Linked DNA regions of Homo sapiens: region 1 is linked to region 2. The links are contacts of gene promoters, found by promoter capture Hi-C in human tissues and cell types (Jung and others, 2019). All regions are on one chromosome and are shown on one strand. Each heading gives the region's core, a stretch centred on a gene start or on the middle of the fragment in contact. The rest is flanking DNA. Distances are from core to core; before and after follow the strand shown.

Evidence for each region. The method cuts DNA at HindIII sites, captures the fragments that hold promoters and counts their contacts. A contact is called where the count stands out against the background at its distance.
Region 1: a fragment that was not itself captured here is called in contact with the fragment with the promoter of FXYD4 in region 2 in 1 of the 25 tissues and cell types used here (dorsolateral prefrontal cortex).

Annotation. Positions count from the first base shown.
Region 1 is chr10:42,543,993-42,546,692 of GRCh38, forward strand. It overlaps the pseudogene ZNF37BP. Among named protein-coding and RNA genes, the nearest start is that of LINC00839, 70 kb to the left of the region's middle. The HindIII fragment of the contact is 4,235 bases long and covers 1-2,700 here.
Region 2 is chr10:43,370,231-43,372,930 of GRCh38, forward strand. It overlaps FXYD4 (FXYD domain containing ion transport regulator 4), which reads left to right and starts at 1,406. Exons shown (of 9, transcript NM_173160.3): 1 at 1,406-1,467; 2 at 2,497-2,542. The HindIII fragment of the contact is 15,718 bases long and covers 1-2,700 here.

The sequences.
Region 1 (2,700 bases), core at 150-2,649, 830 kb before region 2:
ACTTTCTCAGGGCTAGTCTTCCAGGAAGTGCTAGTTGAAAGCATTTAAAGGCAATTATCTGGCCTCAGCAGCCAGATGAGAAAAGCAGCAGATGGACTGATAAAACTGGGAGTGGAAAAACTGGGAAGGAAATACATGGGGGCCGGGGTGGGGATAAGGGGTTTGAAAAGCTCCTGCATAAACCAGGGAATTGAGGTCATGTGCAAGGCCAGGGCAATATGCACGCTCACAAAAAACCTGAGAGGAACCTAAGCTTTCAGTCTGGTTGACCTTCAGGCTCAGTGTAAGCAGGAAGTAAAGCTTTACACAGAGATGTAAATGGCCTGGCAAACCATTACAAGAGCGCCCTAAAACAGGGCAAATATGCAAAGACCAGAATAGTTTTTTGTTTTGTTTTGGCTTTGGGCATTTAAAGAAATCTCTGTCAGATCACAAACTGACCACTAAACTAAGGGAACAGAGGTTTCTGTGACCATGTACAACAAAGAACTTTACAAAAATAGTTTTGAAAAGTCACAAAATAAACAAACAATGCAAAATAAACAGCAACAACAAATTCTGGGGAAAAGAATCTGATTTCTAGAATTAACACATTTTAATATTCAAAATGTTCAGTTTTCAATAAAAAATTATGAGGAATGCAAAGAAGATAATATGACCCACAGACACACAGAAAAAAGAAATGAATAAAACCTGTCCTCAAAGACACCTTTGTTATTGGTCTTACTAGATAAAGAATTTAAATCAACTGTTCTAAATGTGCACAAAAAGCTAAATGAAACCAGACAACTAACAGAAAGCAGGTGAGCGATGCCCTGCCAAATATAAAATATTAATATACAGAACAAAATTACAAAAATGTAATTAGGAATGTCTGGAGCTGACAAGTACAAAAACTAAATTTTTTTAAAATCAGTCAAAGGATTTAATAAAAGATTGGAGCTCAAAGAGAACAAAGAATCAGCAAAATTGAAGACACTGATGGAGATTACTCATTCTGTGGAGCAGAGAAAAAGAATGGTGAAAAATGGACAGTGCCTAAGAGATCTATGAGACAACATCAAGCATACCAACAAGTTAATAACAAGAGTTGCTAATGAAGAGGAGAAAAGGGAACCAAAAATATCTGAAGAAATAATGTCTGAAGACCTTCTAAACTGATGAAAGACATGAATCTCTATGCCCAAGACTCTCAAGAAACTATAATTAGGATAAGCTCAAAGAACTTCAAACTGAGAGAAATAATAAATTGTCACAAGACAAAGAATCTCAAAAGTAGCAAGAGATAAGGGACTAACCATGTACAAAGGATCTGAAATAAGATTAACAGCCAGACTTTTATTAGGAACCATGAAGGCCAGAGGCAGTAGGATAATGGCACCTTTCAAGTGCCAAAAGAAAAAAAATATATATCAAAAATTCTACATTTGGCAAAACTGCCTTTCAAAAATGAAAGAGAAATTAAAACATTCCTAGATCAACAGAATCTGAGAGAATTTATTAGTACTAGATCTGTCCTACAAGAAATGCAAAAGGAAGTCCTTAAGGTTGAAACAAAAGGACATTAGACAGTAACTCCAATCGAAACACACAAAAAATTCAAATGGTAAAAGTAACTACTGTAAGTAAATGCAAAAGCCAGTCTTATTGTATTCTTGGCTTTTATGTTCTCTCTTTTTTCTATATGATTTAAAAGACAAATACATAAAACAATAATTATAAATCTATGGTAATGTGCACGCTATTTATGAAGGCATAAAATGAGACAATAAGAAGACAAAGGACAGGGACAAAGCCGTATAGGAGGAGAGTTTTTATATAATATTAAGGCTTAGTTAGTATTAATGCAAGCTAGATTGTTATAAATTCAAGATGCTAATTGCAATTCCAAGTATTAACACTAGGTAAATAATGACTACAAACAAATACAAAAGGAATTAAAATGGCACATTAGAAAAAAACAAACACAAAAGAAGGCATACACAGAAAAACTGAAAACAAAAAAGATGTAATACGTATGGAAAACAAATAGCAAAATGGTATAAGTCCTTTATCAGTTTATAATTTACTCTAAATGTAAATAAACTAAACTCCCAACTAAAAGACAGAAATTGGCAAAATAGGCTGGGCATGGTGGCTTACACCTGTAATCCCAGCACTTTGGGAGGCTGAGGTGGGCGGATCACGAGGTCAGGAGTTTGAGACCAGCCTGACCAATACAGTGAAACCCCATCTCTACTAAAAAAAAAAAAAAAATACAAAAATTAGCCAGGTGTAGTGGTGTACACCTGTAATCCCAGCTACTCGGGAGGCTGAGGCAGAAGAACTGCTTGAACGCTGGAGGCAGAGGTTGCAGAGAGTCAAGATCGCACCACTGCACTCCAGCCTGGGTGATGCAGTAAGACTCTGTCTCAAAAAAAAAATAAAATAAAATAAATAATAAAAATAAAAATAAATTGGCAAAATAAATAAAAATATATGATCCAGGTATATATTGTCTACAAGACACTCTCTTTAGATACAAACACACAACACAATAGGTTGAAATTGAAATGACAGAAGAGGATAGTAACCTAAAGAATGCCAGGGTGGCTATACTGAGACAAAAGAGACTTTAAATCAAAAATTGTTACAAGAGAAAAACACTACATATTGATTAAAAAAAAAAAAAAACTAAGTCTACAAAGAAGACATAGTAAC
Region 2 (2,700 bases), core at 156-2,655:
ATCCTATTCAGACTGCCCTATACTTTTTTTCCACTTAAAAGTATGTCTGGGCCAGACATAGTGTCTCACACCTGTAATCCCAGCATTTTGGGAGGCCGAGGCAGTGGATCGCCTGAGGTCAGGAGCTCGAGACCAGCCTGCTCAACATAGCGAAATCCCATCTCTACTAAAAATACAAAAATTAGCTGGGCACAGTGGTGTGTGCCGGTAATCCCAGCTACTCGGGAGGCTGAGACAGAATTGCTTGAACCTGGGAGGTGGAGGTTGTGGTGTGCCAAGATCGAGCCACTGCACTCCAGCTTGGGCGACAGAGCGAAATTCCAGCTCAAAAATAAATATATAAATAAACAAACAAACCAACTAAACCATCATTGCCCTCCCCAGCCCTCCCAGCCCAGAGACCCCCATCCCTTGTCAGCCATCCCCCCTTACCTTCTGGACAGGGACAAGTGTCCCTCATTTGGAAAAGAATTAAGGAGGGGTAACAGCAGACTAGGGAGGCCTGGGGTCCTCCACACGCCTGTGTGGGGTGACTTTGGCCCCCAGCAACAAGGCAGGCCTGAGGTCTGCAGAGGGAGGCAGCCCACTCCTCAGCCGGGGGCGTCTATCCTCCTCCTGGCCCCATCCCTCACCTGTGGGGGAGGCTAAGTGGGTGTCAGGGCCCTGTCAGAGGGTGAGCCACCCCCGGGGGTGCCCATCGGCCACCAGCCTCCCTTCAGTAGACACCCAGCCCAAGTGACAGCAGTGGCATGGCACTGCTGAGCACAGGGAGCCTCAAGGTCAGTGCCTGGCTCCTGGTATCCTCCGTGGTCCCCAGGACACCCCCACACAGAGGTCCCAGAACCCCCAAAGCTGGCACAAGAGCCCAGGAACACCCTGCCCAGCACCCTCCAGGTCCCTCTTTTAGGATCTGGGTGAGCTAAAGAAGCCAAAAGAAAGGCTGGGCGCGGTGGCTCACGCTTGTAATCCTAGCACTTTGGGAGGCCGAGGTGGGCGGATTGCCTGAGCTCAGGAGTTGGAGACCAGCCTGGGCAACACATTGAAACCCCATCTCTACTAAAATACAAAAAAAATTAGCCAGGTGTGGTGGCGTGCACCTGTAGTCCCAGCTACTCGGGAGCCTGAGGCAGGGGAATTGCTTGAACCCAGGAGGCAGAGGTTGCAGTGAGCTGAGATTGCATCACTGCACTCCAGCCCGGGTGACAGAGTGAGACTCCATCTCAAAAAAAGAAAAAAAAAAAAAAAAAAAAAAAAAAAAGAAGCCAAAAGAGGGTCTTCGGCCCAGCCCGCCCCTCCCCAACAGCCCTGGGTGTGGCAGGGAGCCTGACCAGTTCCCTCCAGCCTGCGTCATGGAGCCCTGGGCGTGGCTGCAGGGTTTAAAGAGCCGACCCACGTGCCCAGCAGCCTCCTCAGATCCGTTCTCTGCGCTGCCAGCTCAGGTGAGCCCTCGCCAAGGTGACCTCGCAGGTGAGCAGGCGTCCACTTTGGGGCTGCTGGGTGAAGGGGGTGGGTGCCCAAGAATTCTGAGTAATGAGGAGCCTGTTGAGGGGTCTGAGGACAGATATGGCTGCAGCAGCCGCTTGAAGGCCTCCTGCTTTGCACCCACTATCATATGGATGGTGGGTTGGGGGTTGGAGGAAACAGAAGCCAGCCCTTGGCTAAAGAATATATGAGCTGGTGGGGTATACCTCTGGTCCCAACTGCTTGAGATACTCAGGTGAGGAGATCACCTGAGCCAAGAGAGTTCAAGGCTGCAGTGAGCCGAGATCACGCCACTGCTCTCCATCCTGGGTAACAGAGCAAGACCCTGTCTCAAAAAAAAAAAAAATAGTAATAATAATAATAATAAAATAAAAAATGTGACCTAGAGTTGAGACCCTCGTATTCCAGGAACTCCAGGTTGGTGAAGGTAGAGAGACCAGTGAAGGCTGGGGGAAGCCAGCTTTGGAGACTGCTCCTAGCCCAAGAACCGATGTTCAGAAGCAGTGCCTAACAGTCTCTCCCTCCAGTGCCTCCCTCCCACTGCAGAAGGACCATGTGTTTATTTATGGATGTATTTATTTATTTATTTTGAGATGGAGTCTCCCTCTGTTGCCCAGGCTGGAGTGCAGTGCCAGGATCTCGGCTCACTGCAACCTCCACCTTCCAGGTTTAAGTGATTCTCCTGCCTCAGCTTCCCAAGTAGCTGGGAATACAGGCGCCTGTCACCACACTCAGCTAATTTTTGTATTTTTAGTATAGATGGGGTTTTGCCATGTTGGCCAGGCTGATCTTGAACTCCTGACCTCAGGTGATCCACCCGCCTCAGCCTCCCAAAGTGCTGGGATTATAGGTGTGAGCCACTGCGCCCGGCCTATGGATGTATTTATTGTAACAGGTTTTTAGTGCTTACTGTGTGCTAGGCATAGTTCTTAGGCTTGACAAATAGTAGTTCACGTAATTCCATCGCTATAACCTTATGAGGTTGCTACTATTCTGATGATCCTCCTTTTACAGGACACTGGTGAAGGAGCAGTGAGGAACCTGCAGAGTCACACAGTTGGTAAGTTGCTAAGAAGGGACCCAGCCCAGACAGCTGGCCCTGGATCTGTGATCTCATCAGGAGGCCAGAGCTGGGTACAGCAGATGATGACAATGGCTTCAGTATTGAAAACTTGACCACACTAGGCTAACAATATGCAGAGGGCTGGGAGGGGGCCT